Regions from separate parts of the Homo sapiens genome. Here regions 1, 2 and 4 are each linked to region 3. The links are contacts of gene promoters, found by promoter capture Hi-C in blood cells and fetal thymus (Javierre and others, 2016). All regions are on one chromosome and are shown on one strand. Each heading gives the region's core, a stretch centred on a gene start or on the middle of the fragment in contact. The rest is flanking DNA. Distances are from core to core; before and after follow the strand shown.

Evidence for each region. Contacts are between HindIII fragments. The CHiCAGO score rates a contact against its expected background, and 5 or more counts as called.
Region 1: the fragment with the promoter of AMD1 here is called in contact with the fragment with the promoter of MARCKS in region 3 in 1 of 17 cell types (fetal thymus); the score reaches 5.3 in fetal thymus.
Region 2: a fragment that was not itself captured here is called in contact with the fragment with the promoter of MARCKS in region 3 in 1 of 17 cell types (fetal thymus); the score reaches 11.2 in fetal thymus.
Region 4: a fragment that was not itself captured here is called in contact with the fragment with the promoter of MARCKS in region 3 in 1 of 17 cell types (fetal thymus); the score reaches 5.7 in fetal thymus.

Annotation. Positions count from the first base shown.
Region 1 is chr6:110,873,478-110,876,386 of GRCh38, forward strand. It overlaps AMD1 (adenosylmethionine decarboxylase 1), which reads left to right and starts at 1,308. Exons shown (of 9, transcript NM_001634.6): 1 at 1,308-1,738. The coding sequence starts at 1,629. RefSeq lists enhancers at 1,730-2,445, 2,446-2,909 and silencers at 1,883-2,132, 2,193-2,262, 2,293-2,482. The HindIII fragment of the contact is 4,442 bases long and covers 1-2,599 here.
Region 2 is chr6:111,478,183-111,481,362 of GRCh38, forward strand. All of the region lies in intron 1 of REV3L (REV3 like, DNA directed polymerase zeta catalytic subunit), which reads right to left. Among named protein-coding and RNA genes, the nearest start is that of REV3L, 3.4 kb to the right of the region's middle. RefSeq lists an enhancer at 460-1,184. The HindIII fragment of the contact is 2,284 bases long and covers 589-2,872 here.
Region 3 is chr6:113,856,087-113,858,972 of GRCh38, forward strand. MARCKS (myristoylated alanine rich protein kinase C substrate) reads left to right here and starts at 1,259. Exons shown (of 2, transcript NM_002356.7): 1 at 1,259-1,761. The coding sequence starts at 1,660. RefSeq lists enhancers at 14-73, 94-143, 414-959, 960-1,503, 1,291-1,340 and a silencer at 2,806-2,886. The HindIII fragment of the contact is 4,373 bases long and covers 128-2,886 here.
Region 4 is chr6:111,601,700-111,604,644 of GRCh38, forward strand. All of the region lies in intron 1 of TRAF3IP2 (TRAF3 interacting protein 2), which reads right to left. It also overlaps TRAF3IP2-AS1. Among named protein-coding and RNA genes, the nearest start is that of TRAF3IP2, 2.7 kb to the right of the region's middle. The HindIII fragment of the contact is 3,499 bases long and covers 1-2,945 here.

The DNA.
Region 1 (2,909 bases), core at 58-2,557, 3.0 Mb before region 3:
CAGGGTATCTAGAGTGCAAACCCAAACCATGTCTTTTTCAGTGGATTTTTCATGTTGACATCATCTTATTTCACTTTGGGGAAAGTTTTTTTCTAAGGATGATAGCGAAAAGTCCTTTTGTCTTGTGACAATAGCAATTTTTATGTCAGCTTGGGTTTTTTTCCTCCCATATTCCCAAGTAAAAGTAATAACTTTGTTACCAGTTTTGCCATCTGAGGTTAAACTGTTTGACCATGGCTTGACGACTATTTTATACTTAACACTTATAAAATATTAGACTGATAGTTATTTAAGTTACCACCAGTGATAGCTCTGGAATCCCTGTTTTATTAATTTCCAGGTAAATCCTTCTTAAGCACATGGGAAGATAGCACTGTAAATTTTGGGGGGTAAGGAGAACCTCCATCAATTAATACATCAGCTTGATAAAATTCAAAGAAAAACATGATCAAATAAGTTCAGATTATATTTAACACATTCAGTTTCTAGAAGTAGTTTTGCTGAATAAATTCCCACCAGTTGAGCTAATGGAGCAACGGAGCTGCCAGTGCTTCCCGGAGGCTGCTGTGCTCAGCCAATTCGGAGGCATGGCGAGCCACACGGTGGGAGGTGGGTAAAGCCGGGGCCCTCCAAGGCTGGGCGCCACGTTGCTTTTCTCTTCTGAAATAGGAAGACAATGCTTCTGGCTATTGTATAAACCAGCCGAGGACTGCTTTCATTCGCACATCAGCCAAGGCGTGAGCAGAATTAAAGCGCCTTCTAATTCGACCCCTGGCAACGTGCGCGTCACGGACAAATGTTTAGTTTTAACGCCTGGCTGCGTTCGCCTTGGGAAAACACACTTTTAAGAATGGCCAAGTACCTCAGCAGTCGCGGTGAACTGCACAAGATCAAAACCACCACGCCAACCCAGCGCTGGCCACCGTCCCCGCTGAACCCCGCCAACACCCCTAAGGACCCACCCATGTTTTCTGCTAATCATTTTTTTTTTCTAAACAGCTCTGCACAGCCTTTCCTCATTCCGTTCCCGCTCTCCCCACCCACTCTGCGTTCGATCCGAGGTTTCTAGTCCCCAGCTGGACATCACAGCACCAACTCCCACTCAGGAGCCGGCCAGAGCCCGAGCCGCAGCGCAGTGGGCAGCTCCCCGCGCTCTCCGCCAGGCCCTCGGCCAGCCAGCCGCCACTCGGCCGCGAGTGATTGACAGGCGGCAGCAGCTATAGGCCGTGGAGGTGGGACGATGCGTCACTTCCTGGTCTTTTGGGGGGAGCCGGGATATATAAGGGCGGTGCTCACGCAGCGCTCTCGCTTACACAGTATGGCCGGCGACATTAGCTAGCGCTCGCTCTACTCTCTCTAACGGGAAAGCAGCGGAATACAAGAGACTGAACTGTATCTGCCTCTATTTCCAAAAGACTCACGTTCAACTTTCGCTCACACAAAGCCGGGAAAATTTTATTAGTCCTTTTTTTAAAAAAAGTTAATATAAAATTATAGCAAAAAAAAAAAGGAACCTGAACTTTAGTAACACAGCTGGAACAATCCGCAGCGGCGGCGGCAGCGGCGGGAGAAGAGGTTTAATTTAGTTGATTTTCTGTGGTTGTTGGTTGTTCGCTAGTCTCACGGTGATGGAAGCTGCACATTTTTTCGAAGGGACCGAGAAGCTGCTGGAGGTTTGGTTCTCCCGGCAGCAGCCCGACGCAAACCAAGGATCTGGGGATCTTCGCACTATCCCAAGGTGGGTCCCCGGGGCGCTCGCTGACATCCGGGCCTGGGGGCTGTCGCCGCCGCCGAGGCACCAGCCACGGGTGGAGCCCGAGTTCCCTCAGCTTTCAGTTGGGGGCAAGTCTGCGGCCTGGGGTCGCTTCGGCGGCCTTGGAAGGTGCGCGGTTTGGGGGAGAGCGGCCATGTCCACGCGGGCCGGAGCCGGCTTCTCCCGCCGTGGTTGCCGCGCCTGGCATTGCCCTGGGGGAGGGGAGGAGGCCGGCGCGGCCGCGTGCTCAGGTAACGTCCCGCGCTGGGCGGCGGGCGGCGCGGCCCGGGGTGGTTTTGCGGCCCGCGCCTCCCGACATTTCCCTCCGTAGTAGTTGGCGGCAGGGGCCCCAGGTGGGGGTCGGGGGCGCCTGCGCGGGTTGCCTCCGGCAGGTGTGGCTCGGCGGGCTTAGTCAGGCGCTAATTCGGGCGTGCCGGCTTCGGGGAATGGAGGGCGGGAGCGGCGCTTGTTCTTGCCTCGGGCGCGGATAGGAGGGGCCCTCCCGGCCTTGTCTGAGGGGCTGGCGAAGAGGCCTCCCACCCGCGGCGGCCGCGGGCAGCATGTGGCGTTCGGGCGGCGGGGATTGGGCGGGAGCAGTTATGTCGCAGTGGCGGGGCCCCACCGCTCCCCTAACATGCTCTGCGCCAGAGCCTTTTCGGGGCGGCTGGGCAGACGGCGCAGTCCCCGGGGCCGCCCTCGACACGGCCGCTGAGGCCGCTGGGGGCTGCTCCCCAATCTCTTGACCTTGGGTTGTGTAACCTGCTACGGAGCCGGCGGAGCGGGGCGGGAGAGGTGCGGGTGGAGGGAGGCCCGCCTGCCCCAGGACATAATGCCTCTAATGCCTTAAGCTTGAGCAAAGGAATCTGGGGCCCACTCCCACTGCGGGCCGTCACGCGAGAGATACTTGGGCTGACCGCGCCGAAGAGGCGTTTTAGTTGGTATTGCTGTGGAAATCCATGCTTATATAAAAGCCCAGAGATCCCGTGGATGCTTAGGCCTTGTTCCTGGCGGCGGTCGCACCGGTGGCCACCAATGGCCTTCCTAGGCCCTGCCACCGGATCCCTGGCTCCTCTGCGCACGAGTGCGGCTAGGGTGGCGGTGCAGCGGAGTAACTGGCGTGGCCAGCTTCATTGAGAGGCGGCGACCAATGGGCTCC
Region 2 (3,180 bases), core at 481-2,980, 2.4 Mb before region 3:
TGACTCCCCTTTTTGCCTGGATATAGAACATGTCTCCCAATGAATCCTTGCTTTGTCTTATACACATTTCTATAGTCCAGTCATACTGCATTTGACTTACGTTTACATGCCCATCATCTCTACTACATTGTGAGCTTCTGGAGAGTAAAGCTGTTCTTAAGGCACTTAAAGCTAAAACAACTTGCTACTCAGGGCTTCAAATACCTACTTTAAAAAAAGTGACCAATTTGTTTGTGATGAGTCATTACATCTCCATAGCGTTCCTGAAAATCTCTCCAATAATTGTAATCAAATAGGTGTTATATGATCTTAAAATATTTTTAAATAGCTTAGTAAAAAACAGACTATGAACAAAGCAGATTCTATTAGAGAAACTTTTGAACCTGAGTTGTTGATACACGCTAATTTTCAAAATTATTCTTATTGCAAATTTAACTCCAATTTACCAAAAAAAAAAAAAAAGGTTATTCTGGTAGTTTCTTATATTTAATTTTATAAAATATAAACAATGAGAATATATTTATAATTGGATAAGCATCTACATAAACTTATATAGCATTTCAGAATTATCAATTCCTTATGTTGAAAAGCTTGATTTCATGGCTAACAGTATCTAGAACAATCTACCAAAATATTCACTAAGCTAGAGGAAGTGGCAGAGTTCCTTAGAGTAATCTTAAAGACAAGCAGCTCCCTCTATAGTCTGTCTGGCCTACTTTGTTTAATTCCTTGCTTTGTGGACATCCCACACTCTTCTATTTACTCCTACTCTGCATCTCAGCAGGGAAGCTCTTTGAAAGGATAGTTCTGTTTAACCTGGTGCTGAGGAAACTGTGAGAGCTGTCTAAACTCAGCATGAAGTGAGTTACATCAAGCAACTAAGCAAAAGTCGAGATGTGGAAAATGGACAGCTTCCCAAGTCCACCTCAGTCAAATCCTTAAATGAAGCCTGATGATTTCATTTGTAGTGAATCCTCTGAGTGGTCACACCTATATTCAAATCTAAATGAAAAAACATTGTCCTATACTTTATTCACAACCTTTCTTCCCTCCATTAAAACAAGTTACCAAAATGTTGTTCTAAAAGAAAAAATTAACAATTTATTCTACAAATGATACTGCTCAATTTGATTATGTCAAAATAATGTTCAAGACATTTTAAAAACTAGTTAAAAAAATGGAGAGGAAATTTGTTTTTGTTTTTTAAAAAATTCCATAACTCAGATGAAGAAACTTTAAGTGATTCCCTTAGGAATCAATATCCTCAGTTGGCAAGGGATTAAATCAGTCAGGATTTACCATTCAAATCTGAATATCCCCCCCCGCCTTTTTTTTTTTTTTTTTTAAGACAGGCTCTTGCTCTGTTGCCCAGGCTGGAGTGCAGTGGCGTGATCTTGGCTCACTGCAGCCTCAACCTTCTGGGCTGAAGCGATTCTCCTGTCTCAGCTTTCCAAATAGCTAGTACTACAGGTGCACACCACCACGCCCAGCCAATTTTGTTTGTTTGTTTGTTTGTTTTGTACAGACTATGTCGCCCAGGCTGGTCTCCAACTCCTGGGTTCAAGCGATCCTCCTGCCTCTGTCTTCCAAAGTGTTGGGATTACAGGCATGAGCCACAGCACCCAGCCCTGAATATCCCTCTTTTTAAAAATACCTTTTCAAATTTCACCAACTTAAGACATGGGAGCTTTTAAACCCAAAACACTTTATTTCTTAAATTACTCAAGATACGTCCTCAAAACACAGAACAATCAAAAGTCAACTGGACTGTTTTCTAAAGCAGAAAAATGCTTTTCAGGCAATAATAGAAAAACTAAACTAGTAAAAGGGTATTAATCCAATCAGTTCAGAATTTGTAATATAATTTTGAAACGGCCACTTCATTTGAGAAAAAATATCTTTGGTTGCTATTTTTCAGGATCTCATTTGTAAAGCAAAGTCAATTTTAAAACATTTTCTCTCCAAACCAAAGTAAAGCATTAAGGACCTCCCAAAGTAATTCTTATATATGAAAAAAGTATGTTTATGCTATTTTATGTAGCATAGGTTTATCATGTGTTACACATTTTTATTACCTTATTTTACTTGTTAGTAAAGATATAAACTATAAAGATATAATACAAACCATGTTTATATCTTTGCATTATGTTTACATCTTTACTTTCAAATAAATCTGTCTTCATTAAAAATTCTAGCATTCAGAGTTTTACTAAGTCAGACTGGCCTCTCTTTTATATTAATAATTTTCAAGTTTTATTTTATTGGACTAGTTTTCCTTGGGGAGATAATTCAAAAGCAGGTAATTCTGCAGTTTTTGATTATGTTTAATTAATATTAATCTCACTGGGAGTTTCTGACGTGCTAATAAAAATGCTGGCTTGGTTTATGAAAAGTGTAAACTCTAAATGTATGCCAATGACTTCAAATTTTTTCTTGTTGAAACAAACATTTTGTTGGAAACTGTGAACTACATGGCAAATTCAATTTGATAATCCTTAACAATTTAAAATTTGACTTTCTCTGTATCAAGTTTTATGTCTTTCAATGTACATATAAAAAGTGTTACTTTTTAATTCATTTAAAATATAAATTTCAAAGTATGTACCAAAAAAAAAACCCCAATGGGGGTTTTTAGTCTTTGGTTTTTTCGTTTTTGTTTTTTTTTTTTTTTTTAAGGTGCTGGTAATCTATTGTGGGATGTCCATGAAGGATTAAATAGGAAATAGTTAATGTGTCTTTTAAAAAATATTCAGGAAAACAACAGTATATAATATTCTTTATTTTTTAAGGAACATTTCCTCACGTAATAGAATTACATTAGCTTACAGTGAAACTCATTTATTTCCACAAACGAAACTTTCCTATACAACAAAGCTTGACTATCTCTCAGGAAAACATATTTAATGACTTGTGTGGAGGAGAAAAAATTATGTGTGGAAAAGTAACTCAAACCATACAAGCTGTAATACACAGAAATGCCACAGTATATCCTATTAGCATGTCACTTTATGATTCGGAAATTTGGCTGAACAGGGCCATATCAACTTCACTATTTTATCCTTCCTCTGCATCTGAAGTGAGAACAGTGCATTACACTGAAATTCCAATTGGAAACAAAGACAGCACCACTATATTTAAAAGGGCAGAAAACCTATCTTATAGAACACTTCATCGCCTCGA
Region 3 (2,886 bases), core at 9-2,508:
TTTCCTTGGTTCCCCTCACCCCTCATACTTTAAGTCAGTGCCTTGTCTCTCACGCACAAAAAGCGTCTGGTACTTCGGTGGCAAGGAGTGCAGTGACAGATGGAGGTATCCTGTGTACCATTATAGAAGGTTTTCCTCTAACCCAAGTTAGACTTGGAGAGCTCAGGGATCTTGCTATCTCTCAACATACAGAACATTTCTCCTTAGAACTGCAATCCGGTTTAGAATGTCATCGTTGCTGCTGCCTCCCTTCCTTTCAGGAGCACATTCGCCTGCGTGCGCACTCACACACACGTTCAAAAAGAGTCCATTCGATTCTGGCAGTAGGCTGAAAACGATCCATATTGACGCGAATAACATCCCAACTGTAAATATGGATTCGTCTACTCGAGGCTGTGTCTCATTTCACCATAGAGGAAAATTATGTCATTTAAAACAGTGATAAAACGCGAAGAGTTTCGATCTTCTGTAAATGGCTCTCACTTTGAATTGTGGGGGAAAAAAATCACTAATTGGGAATAGCCAGAGAAGGGGGAATTTGTTGAGCGCCCAAGGCCAATCTCAAAATATTTTATTTCATGCCAATGTGGGAGAGGGAAGGGAGTGTGGCTTCGCTGTTTGCCGCTTTTGCATTTTCCACATCTGGCCTACAGACCTAATTCTAACTTGCGATCTCGCTTGATGAAATTCGATCTTCGTGGTTTAAATACCTTTCAATTTGGGACGATTTAACCATTGCAGCAGTTCAAAAAACAAACCCTGAGCATTATCTGTAAAACCAATATGGAAAAAAGAAAGAAAACATGCTGCAAACACACAAATCGCAACCATTGTCTTTAACACTCGCATACACACACATACACATAAACACACGGAAAGATGGGGGAGGGGAGCGAGTGGAGAGAGAGAGACACACGGATATAGACCGACGAGAGTCAATGCGAGTCAAGTTAACGCTTTCTCCGCCCCGATGCACAAGTACCCCCCTCCCGTGTTAATTAATTCCAAACAAAGCAAGCCAATCAAGAAATGCATTATTATTTTCAAGCAGAGAGAGACGAGTGCCATGTATTTTTTAATTGATTTATTTATTTGGAGGACATTAATTCTCGGTCTGAGGCTGATTTTCAAACCGTTTGCAAAGCGCGGCTCCATTGTTCGCCAGGCGCGCAGACCCCGCCCCCTGCTTTGTGTGCGGCGCGCGGATTGGCCGACGCGCGCGGGGGCCGCGTCAGCGCCCGCGAGCCCATTCATCTGTGCACTTGGGCGTTGGACCCCGCATCTTATTAGCAACCAGGGAGATTTCTCCATTTTCCTCTTGTCTACAGTGCGGCTACAAATCTGGGATTTTTTTATTACTTCTTTTTTTTTCGAACTACACTTGGGCTCCTTTTTTTGTGCTCGACTTTTCCACCCTTTTTCCCTCCCTCCTGTGCTGCTGCTTTTTGATCTCTTCGACTAAAATTTTTTTATCCGGAGTGTATTTAATCGGTTCTGTTCTGTCCTCTCCACCACCCCCACCCCCCTCCCTCCGGTGTGTGTGCCGCTGCCGCTGTTGCCGCCGCCGCTGCTGCTGCTGCTCGCCCCGTCGTTACACCAACCCGAGGCTCTTTGTTTCCCCTCTTGGATCTGTTGAGTTTCTTTGTTGAAGAAGCCAGCATGGGTGCCCAGTTCTCCAAGACCGCAGCGAAGGGAGAAGCCGCCGCGGAGAGGCCTGGGGAGGCGGCTGTGGCCTCGTCGCCTTCCAAAGCGAACGGACAGGTAAATTCTACCTGTGGTTGTGGTCATTTATTTCGTGTCTTTCTCTCCTTCCCTCCTGGTGGCTCCCAAGGCTCATTCGTGGAGAGGAGTGTGGCTGGATTCTAGTCTGAAAGTTGAATGGAAATGGATAGCCTAAATTGTGGATTTTTCATAGCCGGGGTCCCCCCACACCAAAGGAGTGGTTCCTTAGAATCCTGGAGAATTCTTGAGTAGACGGGAGGAAAGGAGTGATAAATCGTCTAAAATGGCGTGGTTTGGAGATTGGCAGAACGTGACTAGCTAGGTGCCCTCCTTCCCCCGCCCCCAGCCAGGTTTCATTTGTGTTTGGGGGCACAATGGTGTTTGGGTGTCTCTCGGGTTTGTTGTCGAAGCTGGATTGTCTTCGAGATTTCTGAACTGGTGGTGTGATTGTGTGTGGCGGGGGGGGGAGTCGGGAAAGGGGGGCGCAATGGGGATGGTGGTGGAGAAAGGCGAGGAGGGAAAGGCTGTCTTATTGTATGCCGCGGCGGCGTGCCCTGGGTTCTTGGAAAGGTGGCTGGCTGGGGCCAGACAGAGGGCTTCGGTACCTTTTGATGAGGCTTTCCCACTGTCCTAAATCTTTATTCGTAGCTGTCTGTGGAATTACACATCCATTTGATTTTTAAATGGTATCTGTGGGGTGGGAACACTCGGTGGGTCCTTTAAGAACCTTTCCAGATGGTCAAAAAGAGGCGGTTCGTGCCTTTCGGTCGGGATTGTTCTTGTGCGTGGCGCCTCGACCACCCGCGAGGGGCCGCCCGGCGCTGCCCGGACCCAGGCAGATAGCCACGATTGGGTGGACCCGAGAGGTCGGCCATGGGTGGCTGCTTCGCAAACACTGGGCACCCACCACGCCTCTTTTCCTAGAGAAGAGATCGTGTCGCTTCGCCTGCTCTAACCTACTGGGGAAAGCGAGGTCTGCCAAGAGGCTTTAAACCCGTTAAAAATGCAAAATGAGCCGCCGAGGCGCGCCCAGGCTTCGCAGAATCGCAGGGGAAGGTGGGCGTGGAAGCAGAGGCGAGACCTCAGAAATAATGGGTTTCCCCCTGCCTTGTTGGTTTCAGCCCGACCGGCAGGCCAGGAAACCACCTGAGCTTTGTTTGCGGA
Region 4 (2,945 bases), core at 446-2,945, 2.3 Mb before region 3:
ATATTTCAGGTGGACATTAAAAAGAAATCTATAAATTTACAGCTGGGAGGATCCTGAGATCTACTTCGGATCAGAAACTTTCAATTACAAGATTCCCAAGGCCTTACTTCATTCCCCAGAGAGTAATCTTTTTAATAAATGTCCAAAAGTCATGGATTTAAAAAAAAATCTTTAAACTCATTAATGTCCTTTGTTTCCTGCCCAAATGCATGCAAACTTTCATAACACTGGTTTGCTGAGTGGAAGGTTGGTTTTGAGTGAACTGTTTGGCTCAGATTCAAACTCCAATGAACAAATACTTCCAAGTTTACTTGCTGAATTTCCCATACAGAGAAGTTCTTCCACTGGGCTTGCCAGAGGATTTGAAACAGTGGTGAGCCCTGGAAGGAAGGGAATATTTACTGGCCCTTGGACATAAACCCAGCACAGTAAGACTCACATCAGGCTGAAGGCAGTGCAGTATGAACCGACCTGATTTGAGGAAGTTTGCTCTGGGACTCCTCTGAGCTACTAAATGAGGAGGAGAAGGACTAATGGGAACACACTGACTCCATCACATTAGAAGTTATAATAAACATTTAGAGAACAACCTCAAACCAGCCCATGTTTTTTTTTTTTTTCTGTCGTTGTCATTGTTTTGGTTTTTGTTTTTTTGTTTCTTCAGATAAGATGGTTTCTCTAAGCACATGTGTGATCCCTAATTCAGCCACAGCCACGGAGTGAAGGAGAGGAAGGGGTAGAAAGGAAAAACCAAGAGAGGAAGAGGAAGGGAGAGAAAGGAAGGAAGGAGAACGGAAGAGAAGTAAGGAAAGTGGGGAAACGCTGAAGGATTTTTTTGTATTTGCCTTTTATTGGTGTAGGAGAGACACTTATTTACTTGTAATTTGTATGTAGTGCTGGGTATGAGAAGGGGCAGTTGGAAGAGAAGGGAAAGAATGAATATAGGTGAAAGGTAAGAGTGTCATAGGGTAAGCTGGGAGGCCAGGAAGAGTTTGGACAGACAGCTCAGAGTAGGAAGAGAGTTCAGAGCGGGGAGGGAGACCTGTTGACTCTGGGAAGGGGAAAGGGAAAAAACACTGGCATCCTGACTGCAGGGAAACAATGAGGCAGCGGAGAGCAAGTATCCCTCATTGCTGAGGGAGCTGCCAAGACCCCAGGCAGCCTCAGTCTGTGGGGTGCGGCCTGTGGGGTGCGAGGAGAGGGGCACAGGCTGGGAGCTCCGGTCAGTCCTGGCCCTCCTAAAGGGCTTGAGTTCAGCTGCCTTATCAGGGAACCAAGCCAAACCAGCACAGACCTAAGGATCACCCCATGGATGGAAGCCCACCCTTCTTCAGCCAGTCTACAACTCCTGGTATCCGGGAAGGTCTGTGCACACACAAGGTGTGCACACACACACACACACACACACACACAAGGCGTGCACACACAGCTACAGAGTGAGCTGAGTAGTCACAGCCAAGCACATGTGTGCTTCTAGGAGGCCTGCTGGGCACGGGAGGCAAAGACCATAAGTGGGAGAAAGGACAGCCTGAGTTTCATGAACTAAAAATATCTTGGTGACAACGCATTGGGAAGAAACAGGAGAGGCCCGGGGGGCAGCTTCTTGATTCCAGTCCTCAGACACTTTCTCATGGAAAAATCCTTCAGACTGCAGGATTGTTTTGATAAGGAAATGTGATCAAACATTAGGGGTCATTTCATTGGATCTGAAAGGAATTTAAAGTTGAATATGCCTCATCTGTGTTCACTCTTTTTTTTCTGCAGCAGTTGCCTGCAATTCATATATGTTTTTAGAAGCTAATTTAAAATTGCCTGCAGAAGAAAAATGATTTGAATTCAGGATATTCCTGAGATTTCCATTCTACAACGTGTAAAACAAAGATTTCATTTAGACAAACTACCCCACCATAATCTTTCTGAATGCCTGTTGAAGAATGCCTGCAGATATGACTGTCTTCTCCTCTTCTTTTTCTTTTCAGAGCATTTGAAAGTCACTAACTCCTTAATCCCAGGAGAAGCAGGCTTTAACATTTCCTGTCTCTACACCTTCCAAAAATGAGTAACCCTGAGTTAAGAACCTTTCTATCCGACATGTTGGTACATTACTCAGACCTCACTTCTGTTTAACCCACCCCATGCAAGGAACAGAGCAGAGTAACTACATTATCCATCTTTTGATGCTCCATCATGGAGTGACTGGTAGCTGCAGCAGCAGATTAAGAATGACTGTGGTGTGTGGCCTTTAAGGATTAGAGCGAGGCTGGCAAGTGCACAACAGTTAGCCTGCTTTCAGATAATGGTGCATCGTTGTTTGAAAATAAAATCAGGAACTCATTGCAGGTGAAATATCTTGAAATTCCTGTCCTTTCATCCCAGGGGAATAGAGAGAAATGCCTAAAAACATGACACGGACTACACCAGGACATCCCACAGAAACCAAAAGTCCTGCACCAGCCCATCCCAGTCAGCTAGGGCCTGTTTGAACTGTATTGATGGCAAGTAATTGCCAAAAAGAAACAATGACAATTTTTTTTTAAGTCACGGTCTGGAAAAAGTTAAGGATTCTGTGTATCCGCCATCTAATAATGTCTCTAATCACAGTCATCACCCTTACATGGTATTAGGATGTGTTTCATAGTTTCCCTTCCCCTCCCATTAAAGGCCCCACACACAGTGACTGGTCCAGCTGAGGAGTGGTTTCCAGGTCCAGCTACAGCAGTAACTCTGGCTTCTGGAGCTGGGCTTGTCTGCCAGTTCTCTGGCCTGCCTTGACTCTGTGGACAATAGCACAGACTATCCTTCCTGGGTAACCCAAATGGGACATGAACTAATTCGAGAAACTCCCTGTTTTCTCCTATTTGGCTAGAGCCAGTAATAAGGCCTCAATTCCAGGCAGCCCTCCCGCAGAGACACGTGTCTCCCAGCCTTTCGCCCTGACTGCTGCT